Linked DNA regions of Homo sapiens: all the other regions are linked to region 1. The links are contacts of gene promoters, found by promoter capture Hi-C in blood cells and fetal thymus (Javierre and others, 2016). All regions are on one chromosome and are shown on one strand. The core of a region is centred on a gene start or on the middle of the fragment in contact, and the rest is flanking DNA. Distances in the headings are between cores, read along the strand shown. Region 1 holds the start of UBR4 (ubiquitin protein ligase E3 component n-recognin 4). Region 2 overlaps UBR4 (ubiquitin protein ligase E3 component n-recognin 4). Region 3 overlaps UBR4 (ubiquitin protein ligase E3 component n-recognin 4). Region 4 overlaps UBR4 (ubiquitin protein ligase E3 component n-recognin 4).

Evidence for each region. The method cuts DNA at HindIII sites, captures the fragments that hold promoters and counts their contacts. A CHiCAGO score of 5 or more calls a contact.
Region 2: a contact is called between a fragment that was not itself captured here and the fragment with the promoter of UBR4 in region 1, in 8 of 17 cell types (neutrophils, erythroblasts, megakaryocytes and 5 more). The highest score is 9.7, in neutrophils.
Region 3: a contact is called between a fragment that was not itself captured here and the fragment with the promoter of UBR4 in region 1, in 7 of 17 cell types (megakaryocytes, neutrophils, erythroblasts and 4 more). The highest score is 9.9, in megakaryocytes.
Region 4: a fragment that was not itself captured here is called in contact with the fragment with the promoter of UBR4 in region 1 in 8 of 17 cell types (megakaryocytes, erythroblasts, endothelial precursors and 5 more); the score reaches 10.9 in megakaryocytes.

What each region holds. Positions count from the first base shown.
Region 1 is chr1:19,208,173-19,212,204 of GRCh38, forward strand. It overlaps UBR4 (ubiquitin protein ligase E3 component n-recognin 4), which reads right to left and starts at 2,094. Exons shown (of 106, transcript NM_020765.3): 1 at 1,901-2,094. The coding sequence starts at 2,076. EMC1-AS1 (EMC1 antisense RNA 1) reads left to right here and starts at 2,214. Exons shown (of 2, transcript NR_135114.1): 1 at 2,214-2,387. RefSeq lists silencers at 1,764-2,083, 3,109-3,178 and enhancers at 2,134-2,183, 2,434-2,483. The HindIII fragment of the contact is 5,774 bases long and covers 1-2,759 here.
Region 2 is chr1:19,093,563-19,097,594 of GRCh38, forward strand. It overlaps UBR4 (ubiquitin protein ligase E3 component n-recognin 4), which reads right to left. Exons shown (of 106, transcript NM_020765.3): 91 at 3,631-3,718; 92 at 2,961-3,088; 93 at 1,983-2,090; 94 at 1,344-1,463; 95 at 387-577. Among named protein-coding and RNA genes, the nearest start is that of UBR4, 110 kb to the right of the region's middle. The HindIII fragment of the contact is 5,286 bases long and covers 1-4,032 here.
Region 3 is chr1:19,112,866-19,116,897 of GRCh38, forward strand. UBR4 (ubiquitin protein ligase E3 component n-recognin 4) reads right to left here. Exons shown (of 106, transcript NM_020765.3): 74 at 2,533-2,772; 75 at 1,946-2,084; 76 at 1,080-1,205; 77 at 834-962; 78 at 1-2. Among named protein-coding and RNA genes, the nearest start is that of UBR4, 95 kb to the right of the region's middle. The HindIII fragment of the contact is 3,762 bases long and covers 176-3,937 here.
Region 4 is chr1:19,141,215-19,145,246 of GRCh38, forward strand. UBR4 (ubiquitin protein ligase E3 component n-recognin 4) reads right to left here. Exons shown (of 106, transcript NM_020765.3): 54 at 3,572-3,693; 55 at 2,766-2,877; 56 at 433-563; 57 at 133-310. Among named protein-coding and RNA genes, the nearest start is that of UBR4, 67 kb to the right of the region's middle. The HindIII fragment of the contact is 1,146 bases long and covers 1,305-2,450 here.

The DNA.
Region 1 (4,032 bases), core at 844-3,343:
GATCTTGCCTTCCGGCTGGGCACGGTAGCTCATGCCTGTAATTCCAGCACTTTGGGAGGCCAAGGCGGGTGGATCACAAGGTCAGGATATGGAGACCATTCTGGCTAACATGGTGAAACCTCATCTCTACTTAAAATACAAAAAGTTAGCTGGGCGTGGTGGCAGGCACCTGTAGTCCCAGCTACTTGGGAGGCTGAGGCAGGAGAATGGTGTGAACCTGGGAGGTGGAGCTTGCAGTGAGCTGAGATGGCGCCACTGCATTCCAGCCTGGGTGACAGAGCAAGAATCCATCTCAAAAAAAAAAAAAAAAAAAAAAAGAGATCTTGCCTTCCAATAAATGCGTTACCAAAGACCCATCAGTTTGGACTTATTTTCTAAGCCATAAAGAGAGATCTTATTAATGTCTACAAATACAACTCTTGATTATTTGTACAAACAGAGGGTATGGCAAAGACCACTACCACATACATGGCAAAATTCAAACCTAGTGATGTATTTGGTTGGAGGGTGTTCCTTAAGTATTACAGCTTTAAAGGTGGCCCCAGAATACAGGATTTATGGAAGGGTGTCAACAAATTATTAATATTTTATAACCTATCCAGCTCATGTCCAGAAAAACATAAAAGCAAATGCTCTAAAAAGACTGGAACGTTACTGATTCTACGTAACATGAGTATGAGTCAGGAAAAATACTGCCAATCCAAATGTTTAAAACAAAAAGCAGCCACGTAATTTGAAAGTAGTATATTTGAAACCTGTTTACATCTTCAGAACATTCCTGGCCTGATGATTAGATAGCAAAATCCGTCTGTAAAGCTGACTGTGAAGTTACCAAACTCAACCATTATTTTATTATAATTTGTTAAAAACTCTGCATCCAAAGGATTACAAGTCTACAACAAGAAAAAGCACAAAAACAATTTGTCAAACCGTGGGCCTCCTTTGAGTAACAAATAGCAATTTTTAACCTCTGGATAGCAGCTAGATATACCCTTGTCATCGTGAAGCTAAAATGACCCAGTTAACAATTGCAGGGAGTTGCTGAAATGAGGTATGGCTAGAAAAATGAAAGTCAGTCTGGCTTTAAAAGCAAAAGTCTACCATTAAACTAATGAAAGACTGCTCTGAGCACAGTATGTCAGGAAAAGGCAGGCACTCTGAGATCACCATCTTTGTACCTACATAACTGTCACTAGCTAAGAATCGCTGTGCAAAAAGACAAAAACACACAAAAGGAAACCAACAGATAGTACCGTTTGTAAAAGAATGTGATGATATTTTAATGCGAGGGGGATGGGAGGCAGCAAGAGAACACACACACCACACATCCTCTGGGAAAATGATCTCTCAGACACACACTGAAATGTTTTTAATCAAAGACCGATACAGTAGGAATGCACAAGGAGTGCAACGTAAAAAGAGGTCATCAATGTAGCTAGTGGCTTCAGTCACAGAAATAGCACGTGCCCCCACTGATTACAGCACCGCGGGGAGACCGTTATTAAATTATACCGTACGGCTCCGCTCCGGCCCAGGCTAGGAGGATGAGTGCGGGCGAGAAATGCAAACTCATCTGTGACTTGACCCAAGGGGCAGCCCCGTGAACATTCCCTTAAGAGGGCGAATGCATCTCACTCTCAACCATGTCCGGCCACGCCCTCCCGCAGGGAGGCCGCTAAAGTTTTGCTCGAGAGGGGAAACTGAGGTAGAGGTGATTTACATGCGTTGGCGGAGGGAAACCCAGGCAAGCCAGTCTCCCCGGGCCCGGGACCCCGAAGCCGTGGCTGTGGCGGGGATCCTCAAGGGGGCAGGGGGCGGCCCGGAAAGCGGGTCCAGACGATCCGGCTCGAAATCCCCTCCCCCCACAACAGCGTCGCCCGCCAGAGCCGCCGCCCGGTACCTCTCGATGACTGAGGCCACCAGCTGCGGCAACTCCTTCATCTCGAAGGCGGAGTAGGACGCGGACAGCAGGGGCCGCACAGCCACCTCCCAGCCCGGGGTCGTGTCCGCCCCCGTTGCCGGGGTCCCCGGCGCCGGAGCCGCTGCCGCCGCCTCTTCGCCGCCGCTCGTCGCCATCTTCCGTCGTACTACTGCGGCTCCCTCCGGGGGCTTGCCACCGGCCCAGCGCCGCCTCCCAGGAGGGGGCGGAAGTGACGCAATCTGTCGCGTCAGACTGCGCGCCGCCGTCATGGGTCAAAAACGCGACGCGCGGAGCGGCCTTTGCTCTCACCGGGGTCGAGCCGCGGCGAGGGAACGGATCGGAGACGCTGCGCCTGCTCAGAAGGTAGCGCAGCGGGGAAAGGCGGGAGAGCGTTAACTTCTGAGCCTGCGCGGTGGGAGTTGCTCAAGCAGGTGGTAGCGACTTGGCTTCCGGGCAGCGGGTAAAGGTGAGTCTGGGGCATGGGTTCAGTGGGCAAGTCTAGGGCAGCAGAGTTGACTACGCCTCGGCGTATAGAATGGCCCTGGCCTGGGACAGCTAAGGACGACAAGAGGAGGCCGAAGCCTAAAACGCTTTCACCTGCTTCTTCCCCTGCCTAGATCCCCCCAATAGTAATACTAAAGAGCGCCATAGTTTACAAAGATTTCTCCCTCTCACAACACCTTTTAATCACTGATCCGTATTCCCTTAGCACTCAAATCTCTTCTGTTTGGATTGCCCTCATTAACAATCTGACCAGCTCGTACAATGCATCCCTCTTTGCAATTTGCCACGTATGCTTACGTGTTCCCCTTTTTTCTACTGGCAAGGAAAGAATGTAAGCTTTTATTCACAGGAGATGTCTGAGACTTTTGCCGGTAAAATGATCTGGCTACAAGGTCTAAGAGGGAAAAGCAGTTTGCTCGAGGAAAGGTATTCGTGCATTAAGGACAGTCCTGTGAGTGAGATATTGGTGGACGGCTTCAAGCTCTAGCCTGTGGCCTACAGCTGGCCTAAATAAGACTGGGAAGGAACTGTGAAGACGGTTTCAAATTCCTAAAGCCCTGAAATTCTCCCCCTAAGTTTAGGAAGAGCTTTTGTTCTTGGTGTGTAACACTGATAAATGAATTGGTACCTAGTGATTAATCTGCACTTTTATTAAGATATGACCTACTTTACCTTTTTTGAGACAGGATCTTGCTCTGTCGCCCAATAGCCCAGGCTGGAGTGCAGTGGCAGAGTTGCAGCTGGCTGCAGCCTCCACCTCCCTGGCTCAAGTGATCTTCCAGCCTCAGCCTCCCCAGTAGCTGAGACTATACAGGTGCAGGCCACCACTCTTAATTTTTTTTGTTTGTTTTTAAGAGACAGGTCTCCCTACGTAGCCCAAGCTGTTTTCGAAGTCCTAGGTTCCTCCCACCTTGGACTCCCAAAGTGCTGGGATTACAGGCTTGACCCACTGCGCCCAGCCTGCATCTTTACATTCGAAATAAAATTCAGTCAAGTCAAAGCCGGTCTTGGAGGAAAATGTGGCTTTGATGACAGCAGTAGGGATTTTCCTTCAGTGCCTACTTACCAGAGGATAATAATAACAGCAAGTTTCTTAAACATAAAAACATCAGAAATGAAAAAGAACTTTCCATAACACTATAAATATTGCAGTATTTCAAGATACTGAACCAGAGCCCTAAGGAAAGGCTGGAGACCCAGAATTTTATAATGGCTTTGGGACATGAATTTTATTTTAACCAGAGGACAAAATTAATCTGCAAAAGCTGTCTTGGAGAAATTTCAGGAAATAAAAGATCAAATGTATCTGCTGTCCTCCCTTCCCTCTCCAGGAGAATAAAAGGCAAATGCAAACTATCACAGGGAGATTTTCACCTTTACCTAAATTATTTATTATATACTTTATATTTCTGGTTAATAGATTGGGAGAGAGCACTCCAGATAAAGAACTTCCTTTATAAATGCCACATTTATTTCAGTACTGGAGGTTTGGTCTTGTGTTGCCACAAAGATTTGGAATGGCATCTATGTTATAAATTTAGATGACAAAAGAGACTAATAAAAGACTTCTAGATGAAACACAAGCTTCTAATATTCTGGTCCAGGAA
Region 2 (4,032 bases), core at 1,059-3,558, 110 kb before region 1:
TGTCAACAGCCTATAGAAGATCAAGGCTAAATTCCCTAACGTGACACAAAGACCTATCTGCCCCGGCTCCTGCCACTCTCCCTGTTTACCTGCTATGTCTCCCACGCTCACAGCCTTCTCTTGCACTCACATTTGCGCACACGTGGCTCCATCTCGTCATATTCCTCCCATCTCACCAACCACTTTGCCTTCTCTGACTAGCCAATTGCTACTCTAATACAGTATATTTTAACTATTCACTTCCCAACTAGACTGAGCTCCTTAAAAGCCAGAACGAGGACACAAAAATCTAATAGGTATTCAGAGGATTCTTCCTCATCTCACAGACCTAGTTCGGCGTTTTAGTGGAGACTCTCATTTCACTATATGAAATCAAAGTAACATACTTATCAAAGTTGCAGTATGGTTTGAATCGCTCCACCAAGATCTGCATTTTCTCCACCTCTCCAAAGGAAAGGTACGGGATGATGCGAAGCAGGCCCTGGAGCACACTGGGGTTGGAGCGAACAAAGGTGCTGTTGATCTGGTCCAAGAGCATCACCAGTTGATCCTTGTCACCTGTCAGGAGGAGGTTGCCCTGCAACAGAAAAGAGGGTGAACATGCCATTAATGCAGTCAGGACTGTGGCTGCAGCCAACATCTGAGCCCCAAAAGTCACCACTTCCATCAGAGTCATCAGGAATACCCCTAGAAGAACTATGTCTCGGCACTTCTTGGGGAATAACAAACAGTCGGAGTTTCACTTGAGAAATTCGTTTCTAAATTTCTGTGACAGTGCTGTTAATTGTCTCAGGTGGTCAAAATATACCAATACAATCTTCCCTCCCTGTAAAAGAATGCAGGCTGCTGGACATTCACTTGGTCATAGCTCTAGCCAAATCATTAGCACCAATAAGAATGGAGGAAATTACAGGCATAGCAGGTGGAGAGAAATTCTGGGAGTTGGAGATCTGGGTTCTAGGCCTGATTCCACCAGTAACCAACTATGTACCACAGCTGAGGAAATGCCAAGTCCAGGGAAATGAAGTGGGCTATTCAATTCCTCAACTATGAAATGAAAGGTTGGACTAAAGCCTCTGTCTATCAACTGAGACATGCCAGGATTCCATTAACGAGCAGCTTTTGAGTGAAAGACTATCCTTAGCAATTGTGCTTGCTCTGAATCCAAAGATTTCACATTTCGATACAATTATGTCATCATTAGTTGAGTCCTAACATTCCAATGCTTAAGCAGGCTCCGCCATTCTCAGGTGGGCTAAGCCAGACACAAACAGGCCTGTTGTGGGCAATGAGACAGTGCAGGCTCTCAGTGCCTGCAGATGGAGGGGCCGAGCCCCACTCACCTTGTCCTCACTCAGGGGCTCAGCATTGGACTCATCTAGAATGATCTCCATGATGCTAAGCACCTGCTCAGCCACAGCTGCACCCCCACTGTCCTTGCTTTCTTGTTCAGCTACAAGGGCCTGTAGGAGAAGGAGACTCAGTCACTCTCAGAATAAGACCACAGCCACTAACTGCTGAGGACAATTGCTCTCAAGGATGCCCTCACAGCCTTACTCCCCAGAGACCATGTGTGTATGACCGTGTGTATGTATGTGCGTGTATATGCATGTTCTGAGAGGGAGACAAGCGTGTGAGCTTTTGATGACAGGCAGCTTTGCTGCCCCAAGGAGAGGGGCACTTCTTTCCCACTGGTGTGTAGTCTAGACTGTTTAAGGGACTGCCTTCCTCTTATCTCTGATCTGAACTCAGGAAAGGAGCAAGGAAGCTCTTGAGTGCCATGGCAGCAGCATGGGGGCAGGAGGTGAGCCAGCCAGAGGAGAAGGGCAGCTGAATGACCCAAGCCTCTGCACCAGTCAGCCAGAGAGATGAAGGGCTTGAAGAAGCCGTGAGTCCATTTCATCTGAGCCCAGAACTGAGAGGTCTTTCACACCCAGACTTCCAAGGCCCACTCTTCTTCACCTGCAGTCCATGCTCCTTACCAGGTTTAGGGTCCCCAGCATGACGTTCAAGGTGTTCATTTCCAGTTTGACCAGTTGCTGCCGGTTGACTTTCACCTTCACGCAGTAACTGAACAATTTCAGTAGCACCTGACAAGAAAAGCCAGTCAAAACCCATGAGGCCACATGAGAGTGTAGGACATGGGGGCCAGTAGGAAAGGGATGTCTAAGCAGGGTCTACACCATCAGCAGGGGCTCCTCCTGAAATGAAGAGGACAGGAGGGAGAAGCGGCTCTTCAGGGGACATGGTGAGATGGCTGGGCTCTCACATTAGGCTGGTAGCTCCAATGGCGGGATATATCTCTACCATCTCTAATACAACGGCAATGACAGCAGTTCCTAATGGAAGAGGTGATGCTCTGTTTGTTGTCTTGGGGGAAATCCCAGCATCAACTCAGACCCTAAACTAATAGTAAAGAAAATGATCCCAAAGCTCGTGGCCTGTGAGAGCTCAGAACCACATAGGTCATTTAAAACAAAGGCACAATAATAACAATAATACATATTCTCATAAACCCTGGGGGAGTGGGGGTGGGGAGTAGTGAAAATAACAGTGTAGTATTTGTGGTGCCTCTCTGGAATGCTCTAATCCTCACTAAGGAGATTAGTTGGATGAATACCCAAACAAAACCCTACAATGCAAGAAATGAGTTACATTACAAAATCCATTTTAAAAACAACAACAATGATAATAGTTAACACAAGTGCAGCTATTTGGGGAAAGACAGTCAGATGCTGGCTCTATAGAGAGGTATTGGAGAAGGGAAGTGGGCCAGCAGGACGGGAAAAGGTGTGCCTAAGAATGTAGTCCTAACTGCCAGGTCCTTCACTGGCTCGCACTGCTCCACGGCACCATGCTGCCCTCTAGGGTAAAATGACACAGTGGCCATAGCTTCTTTCCACAGGGGCCTCTCCCAGTGCAGAAAGGCTGGCCCCCACAACTTGCTGCCCCCAACTCACTGTTAGAAGGTGGCGTCCCTGCTTGAAATCTCTGATCCCTGCGAGTCTGTTAAGCATGCATTCCAGGCCCCCACACTGGGCCATCACACCAGCCATTTTATACACTTCTTCTTCATCTTCTTCTTCATCTAGGGGAGAAGGGAAGCCAAGCAGAAATGGAGGGTAAGGTGAAGATGGGAATAAAATAGGCCAGGATAAGACAGCCCTATTCCTGGCTGATGGCTGACAGCCCTTTTCCGTATCTCCAATAAAGACACGGCCAATAAAAGGGGTCAATGATGGATGATATTAAACTGTCCCACTCTCAGTAGGAGCTTTTTTAAAGTTTCAAGTCAATTAAAATTACTTACTCAAATGTCAAAGTATGAGCACCAATACCATCAATGGAGTGGGGGGAGAGGGAGTTAAAAATAAATCTGAACTCCAGTTTACTGTTCATTGCATTTTCCTCTAAAAGTTTGCTGGTATTCTTTTTTTTTTTTTTGAACACTCAGTGGTATCTGCATCATGCCACAGACACCTCTTTTTTTCCTCAATTGAAGAAACAATCTCCCCACAATTCTGATGCAGAGGTACAAGAGAGAAGCAACTGAGAATGCCCCTAAGTCCTGGGACGTGAGCCGCTCATGAGTCCCAAGCCTCAGATCCAATGTGCAGTGCCATGATCTACCTGTAGTAGAGTCCAGGGACTCAATGAACTCCTCTGTGGCATCGCCCAGCAGCCCCCGCATACGATAAACAATCCTCATGGGCTCTCCCTGAGCAGAGAAAGTTGGAGAAAGGTACTTAAAAACAGGCCCAGACAAATGCAAAGGACTCCATACTTGGTCTTGCTTAAAGCCCCAGCAATGTGGAGAGCCTCTATTTTTCTACAAAGTCTCAACCACAACATCTAGAATCCAAATGCACAGCAATTCACTTAGGGGAAAGAATGCTAATTTTATTTTGTGTCTACTAGAAGCTAGACATTGTATGAAACATTTTAAAGACACTATCTCCTTCAATTTCATTAGAACACTATGTAATAATCTAACAAATATTTATTGAATGTTTTACTCTGTGCCAGGTCCTA
Region 3 (4,032 bases), core at 807-3,306, 95 kb before region 1:
TTCTAAGAACAAAAAGGCAACAATAATGGGAATTAGCAATTAAAATAAGAAGAGGATGTTAATTAGAAAATTAGTTTTGCTTTAGAAAAAACTTTACATGCATTATATAACTTAATCTTCTCAATAACCCAACTGGTTAGATGCTTTATCTCCATTTTACAGAGAAGGAAACTGAAGCTTGGAGAAAGTGGCTTGACCAAGATAAGTGGCAGAGTCAGAACTCAGACTCAGATGGCAGGCTTATGCTCTTAACTCCCATGTAACAAAGACAAAGGTCAGAAGCTAATACACGTGTAGCAAAGATGGCACTCCAGCAATTTGGGGTTGAGGGGGAAGGTAAACTGGATGCTCTCCTTATATGAGGTACCTCTGTCTATGGCCAGCCTCCCATCTCATGGAGATTAGGTCTGTGACATTGCAACTGACACAAGGCCCACCCTGGTTGATTGCAGTTGGTATGCCCTTACCCTACAGCCTGCAAACACGGCGTTATCAGAAGAGGGAACAGAATCTTGGCATCAAATTTTTTAAGACCAGTAACCCCTCTACTAAGAGATGGGTTGTTAATGGCTAAAAAAAACCCTTATCTGTGTTACCTTCCCATCACCAGTATGTTCAGTTATCTAGCATGAACTCAGCATTCTGACCAGCGCCATAAATCACGGTGGGGGAGATGCCGTTTGGTGCAGCCATCTGCCTGCCTTTTCAGCTAGATTGGGCAGGGACAACACCAAGACCTGGACTGCTAGATGAGAGAGCAGCAGGACTGCTGTGAAAACAACACCAGTAACACTTGGACAAAACACACCCAAAAGCTGCTCCCCGCTCTCTACCTGGATGATTTTGGAGAGTTCATCAAAAGAGTTCTTGCAGTCTCCACAATACTCCTGAGCCAACTGCAGGATGTAACGATTCACACTGGCAGAAGTGGAGCTGATGCCCCCTGCTGTTCCTGAGTCATCCTGCAACCCCAAGAGGTAAGCTGTCAGGCTCCCCACCTAAGGTGATCTCACCTAGGAGGCAGTCTTCTGATCAAGACCCAAGCCCTTATCCAAATGCCCTTTGCAGCGTGGGACTACCTGTGGCTTTTCTGGAGCTGCCTCATTCACTTTGCAGAGCAGGTTCTCCAGCTGTGGCCGGTGTCCCATCAGCTGATGATACACTCGATCAGCTTTGTCCAAAAGTGTATTGATGTTGGATACAGCCTAGACAGGAAAAGACAGGGACTGAGTGAAGGCTTTTTGGCTGATGACTTTCCCTGAGTAATCCTCACTGCTAACCATTTACCAGAACATTTCCTATAGGTCAGGCACTGTGTTTCATACATTATCTCTGTTCTTCACAATAATCTTTCCTGTGAGGTGGGTATATTATTTCTAATAAAAATACAATACACATCTGTGATATATAATAATACAATGCTGAGAGAAGTAACTTATACTAGGTTACACAAGTATTAAAAGTATGGCTGGAATTAGAATTTCTGTCCTTCTGACTCCAAAGCTAAATGTTCTTCTGTTAACCCTATAGGTGCCCCTTTTTCACTGTTCTTTAATATCTAGAACCTCCCCCCGCCCCTGCCCATATTATGCAGGCTGGGAACTAGCACTGGACAATCTAATACTGAGGGAGGGCCAGCAGCCTCAATATGAAGCAGTCTGTGGAAGAAATGCAGGGCAAAGCATCCAAATCCAAAGTTATCTGTACCTGGAGATACTCTAGTTTCATTACCAATCAACACTTTTCTAAAATCCTATGCAAACCATGTCTTTCAATACAATATACCTCATGCCATTCTTTGCTCCCACCCAAAAGCTGGGCCCTGAAACTGGTGTTGAGTCGAAGAAGGCTTAGGCTAGAAAGTAAAGTGCACTGCACTGCACCAGGTCTGCCCAAAGTCCAGATCAAGGCCACAGCCCTGAGTCTAGGCCAGATCTGGCCTCACCTTCTTCCGGTCTTCTTCATTCTCAATGGGATCCACTGCACAGCAAGGCTTGGCATAGAGCATGAAGTCGAAGCGGGCATATTTACAGAAGCCACAGGCATTGCAGAGGAAGGGATCCTTTTCATCGTAGTTGATGGATCTGAGTAACCAAAGCGTTTGGGTCAGTAAGGTGACAAGGCTGGGTGGGGTGGGGGTCACTCTGAGGAAATGGATTGTGCCACATTTATATACTCTGGTAACTACTGCAGGGGCTACTGAAGGGACAATAACAAATGAATGACTTAAGCAGCCAGGTAACAAGAAAGCAAGACCCAGAGCTAAACTTCTGGACCTCCCTCCGCCCTTACCCTCCACCCCTGCCACAGGACAGACACACTCGTGTGCACATGCACACACACACACACACACACACTCACTCACTCTCTCTTCTTCCTCCTCCCTTTCTACCCTTGAACCCACTCTACAAACCCATAATTCTCTAAATGTTCTGAGGGAATCAGACACTGTAATTGCTCACACTGACACTACTACAGAAAAATAACAAGGAATGTGCACAGCCCTGGCCTAGGGGATGACCAATGACTTACCTGCATTTGTGACACTGGTACACATTCTCTCCACAGTTGCCACAGACTCCTGGGTTGGCAGGGACCGAGGCACTACAGCGAGGGCACTGCAGGGTCTCTGTGGAGGCCTGGTAGTTTTCATAGAAGTCTGCAAACTCAATCATCAGATTGGAGGCCACAATGGGCAACGGCAGGTCAATCTTCACCTCTGTCTGTCCAGGGGTCAGCTGAACCTTCTTGGCTTTGTGCCAGCGAGCTGGCCTAGGAAAGACAGACAGCCTTGAGATTTTCTCATCTAACCCTCAGTGATAACAGTCTGATGAGACAAAGAGGAAGACTGTCCCATGTATTTTTCTAAGGCAATTAAGTGGTTACTCTAAGGAAAAGAAATCTGGCATATAATAGGAAGCCAGTTTTAAAAAAGTTTTCTACTACCTTTTCTCTATAAAAAAAGGAAAGAACATACAAGTGCTTTAAGCTGTTATACATGATACCTTTTGAAATTCCAGGAAAACAACAGAAGTATATAACAAGGGAAACCATGACTCCAAAAGCATGCCACACTGAAGCCTGTAAGAGGTGCAATGATGATGCATGCCAAGTTCCCATCCTGACAGCAACCTTGGAAAGATAAACCCAGGCTATTTTAGAGAGGCAGAGGAAGAAAATCAGGGTCTGAACCAAGTGCTAAGTCAAGTCATAAAGAGGAAGGTATGTAATAATTTTGGGGTGATTATATAACACAATGAGAGCTAATATTTACTGAGTACTTACTATGTACTAGGCTCTGTTCTCAGCACCTGACACATACTAACTCATTTAATCCTTAAACCCTGGAAGTGGGGTCCTACCTCCATTTTATAGTTACAGAAACTGAGGTTAAGCAGCTTCTCTAAGGTCACAGAGCTATGTAGCAGAGCTGGGATCTGAACCCAAATAGTCTACCAGTAGCTCTGCTGACTCCACACAATGAAAAATCAAACCCACCTCCTCTGGAGGGGAATGGGCCACCCTAATGTGCAGCATCTACTTTCAGGTCACCAAGGTTAAACTAGGCTTTTCAAGGCAAGAAGAGAAAACCTCCCTAGGCAGCCTTCATGGCCACGTGTTGCTGTGGTACATGAGCCTTATTCTGCCTCTTGGAATAACAGCAATACTTCCATCCTGTGTGCAGAACAGCTCTGTAAGTCTTACTATTCAAGTAGTGTCAACCTGTGTTCTCCCTTCAGTAGCAATGCCTGAGAGTTCAAAAAAAGGCGATCTGTCTCTGTGAAAGTCAACACTATAACCCATGTGAGTGCCTCTCTTGGCCTAAATATGACATGCCCTGGTTCAGTCACTGGGATACATGGGCTAGGAAGATCCAGTATCAGCAGATACAGAGAAAAGGCACCATGTGGAAATCGAAGAGTGTGTGTACTAAAGAAGCTTCTTGAGAAATAACTTTCTGCCCTGTGAGCAAGAGCATAGCTGTCTTAATCCAAGAAATGACAATTACTTCCCAATACAGAAGGTTTTATC
Region 4 (4,032 bases), core at 628-3,127, 67 kb before region 1:
AACAGCTCTCACCCAGATCAACCTCTCCCCATATCTGGGGACAAACTAAGTCAGCTGGATATCAGTAACTGCCAAACCCTCTTTTCCTGTGCAAGGCCAATGGGCCGCTTTGTTCTTGGCATGGCCTTCTACCTTGTTGGTCCTGCTGCAGGCTCAGGGCAATGGCTAGTTCAACCATGGTCTCGTCATCTGCATCAGGTGGGATGTCCAGCATGGGGGGGAAGCCCTCTGCGCCTGCCAGCAGGGCCTCCAGGGGAGAGGGGTTGCCATTGTTGACATTTTCAGCTGTCTCCAGGACCATCGACTCAGACTGCAGAGAGAAAGCTCTGTCAGTGTCCCATGGTAAGTGGTAACTTTTGGAAGTCCACTGAATAAGAGCTAGAGGAGAGTTGTGAAGCTCCTCCTCCCCTTCTCCTGCTGCCAGAGACTCACCACCATCTCAAAATCTCCATGGTCCACCTCACTCTGTTCCTGGCTTTCCTGACGGATGTGACCACCATTCGGGATCCCTGATGACTGCATTTTCTCATCTGCATCATCATCGTCATCATCATCCTTGTCTCCTGAGTCAAAGAAACCCCAGTCACCTGAAGGTGCTTGCTTTCCTCCCTTGGCACATGGTGCCATAAGTCAGGTGGCAACAAAAACCCAAGACAAGCTACCAGCTAGCACCCTGGGCTTTAGCGGGAGAACTCCGGGGTGCTATGCCTGGCCTTGTTCTCTTACTTCTTGGACCTACAGCATCTGGGAAGATGGAGTTGGCTGCGACAGCTTGCCCCCCACAAAAATAAAATGTTCCAGCTGGTGAAGGAAACAAACTTGGATTCCAAAGGGATTTCCATAAAGGTGAGAGATCTAAAACCAGTAGGCCTCCCAAACTCACGCTAACTCTCAGGAGACCTTGGATAAGACAGGAAAAATCATATGATTGGGATCTTTACCTTTTGTCTGTCATGGCAGATTAGAATTTATTTCACTATTTTTTTCTAAAACAACTAGGTCAGTGAGATTTTCACACTACGTAATTACTATGAGAAGAACCAGAATTGAAGTGTAAAACCATTGACTGGAAACCAAGGACACCACTGCAGGTCCTGCCTGTGCCCACTTTTGTGTGAAGGTGAGAAGGCCTTCTAATAAGGAAGATGTCCAGGTGAGACTCCTAATTGTCAGAAGAGGATAGAGACCTCACCTTCCACTCGATGGATTGCTAAAGCTTGTAAATATGTCCGTTAGAAACATAAACTATCTCCACTCTAGGTTCTTGCTAGGGAAAAGAGCCACAAACTGCTGCCTAACCCAAAAGCTTAGGCAAGATAAATGATATGCAAGGAAGATTTTCTGAAAGTCACAAAGTTGTGTACAATCCTCTAGATGTGCACTGTCCACCAGCCACATGTGACTACTGAGCACTTAAAACATGGCTGTCTAAAAGGAGATGTGCCACTAGTGTAAAATACATTCTGGATTCCCAAAATGGTACCAAAACAGGCAAAATATTTCACTAATAAATTTTTTATATTGACAAGATGTAGATATAATATTTGATATACTGGATTAAATAATTAGTAAATCAATTTTACTTTTTACTCTTTATAATATTGCTATTAGAAAATTTAAAAGTACAGGCCGAGCAGTGGCTCGCGCCTATAATCCTAGCACTTTGGGAGGCCGAGGCGGGCGGATCATTTGAGGTCAGGAGTTCGAGACCAGCTTGGCCAACATGGTGAAACCCTGTCTCTACTAAAAATACAAAAATTAGCTGGGCACGGTGGCACGCGCCTATAATCCCAGCTACTAGGGAGGCAGAGATTGCAGTGAGCTGAGATGGCACCATTGCACTCTAGCCTTGGTGACACAGTGAGACTCTGAAAAAAGACGAGAGAGAGAGAGAAAGAAAGAAAGAGAAAAGAAAAAAAGAAAAGAAAAGAAAGAAGGAAGGGAAAGGAAAGGAAGGAAGGAAGAAAAAAGAAAGAAAGGAAGGAAGGAAGGAAGGAAAGAAAGGAAGGAAGGAAGGAAGGCAGGAAGGAAGGAAGGAAGGAAGGAAGAAAGAAAGAAAGAAAGAAAGAAAGAAAGAAAGAAAGAAAGAAAGAAAGAAAGAAAGAAAATTTAAAAGTACATAGTGACTTTCATTTGAAATTTACTTCTAAATCAAGCCAAGTAACCAGAATTATATAATTCTGTTATTCAGACACCTTTTAGAATTGCTTTTACTGAATCGTAAAATGTTATGCCCTTGACTGTATTGTGTATTGTGTATTGTGTACTGTGTATTGTGAGGGAAATTCCTGTGAAATTTGCTATCCAACTTATTGTAGGTAAGTCCACTAAGGATTCTGCCCCTTTGGCAACAAAATGGACATTTAATGAAGAGCTTCTATCCCAAGAAAAGTTATGTTTCTGTTTTGTCTTTGGTCACTGTGATTTTATTTTTGCTATGGCTCTTAGGAAGCTTTCAGCCAAATATAAGACCCTCGCTTACCAACCATGCAGGACCTTTGTGATGTGAATTTTCTGTATTTTGATTTTACTATGGTACTTTTATTTTCCCATGGCCTTTAATCTTTATTTTTATCCTACTTACTATATACATTTTGATGTGCCACCTAAATTCTTTATGGGGTGAGGTAGGATTAGAAAAAAGACAGATACATAAAGTCTCCAGGACCTTGGTCAACATGAGCAGCATGCCCAATGCTACTGTACCTCCCTCTCTCCCCTCCTCCCAAATACAGGCTTGAGCCTAAACCCAGACCTCATATTACCCATTGGAGTGTTGCTTCGAGGGGAAGAGGGTAAAGTCACATGTCTCCGTTTGTTCCTGGGCCTTAGGACTCGAATTAGAGCTTGTTTACAAGAGAAGCTCACAGCAGGATCCTGAGGTTTAAAAGGAAACTGTCACGCTTTGCTCTCATATTATTCATGAAACTCTCTATAAAACACTTTCCTTTCTTGGTCACTCACTCACATGCAAGTGGAATACCTCTCTACTCTCACCTGCAACCCAGCGGACCAAGTTCAGCAGGTTAAGTTAATCCCCGCTTCCTGTTCTGGCACACATTAAGAGCCATTCGCTAACCTCCTGTCTCTCAGTTCCTGGGGATGGACTGGCAGGTCATTTGCTCCTGAGGCCATTTTGGCCCCTTACAAATGGTTCTGGCTTTTTATCAGATGATCAAGCCCCCAGCGCACGTCTTAGCTCTGTGCTAAAATCAGTAGTTTTAACACTTAGCTTCTGTGAAAGGGTCACTGGAAATAGAAATCTTGATGTACTACTTTCATTCATGTGCTCATTTAAGTCACAATTCACCGAGTTACCTAGCACTTACTATGTAGCAAGCAGTAGGCTGTCCCTGGTGATTCAGCACTGAATAAGAAAGACTGAGCCCATCCCCTTTCCAAATCTTTCTCTTCCATGGAGTAAGATCTTAAAGCTTTTATTGATATTTGAAACTTCATTCCCTTCAGCTTCCTCTAAATATATTTTATTTCATTAGCTTAGCAAGCTAAAAACAATTTTCCAGATATTCCCTGGCTGCTGCGAGCTCTCTGGGATTGTAATGCTACGTACAGGACACAAGAGCATCTGCATGTAGATCTTGGATGCTGTGTTAATACAATCCAGCTCACAGGTACAGTAGCCATGGATGATGTCCACCAGAGCATTGACAGTAGCTTCAATATGAGTTAGTCCTAAAGGAGAGACAAACATTATTTGAAAATCTGGAGGAAAAAACTCTAACTACTTGAGAGTCTGAGACAAAAGTGTAACCTTTTATCTCCATGTAAAAGGTCATGCAAACAAAATGACAAACACTCACATACACACTCATTCACACACAGTAGCCTGTATTATTTATGATTTGTTTCATTAACAGTTTCCTAAACTCCCAAATTGTCCTCAAAAGTCTTTCCAGATATCTTGAGTCACAGAAATAAGTAGCTGTCCACTCTCTCTGGATATCAAAAGACAAGGCAAGGAAATATGAAGAGGAAGGCAGATACTAAATGTTCCCTAATATCCCCCAACCT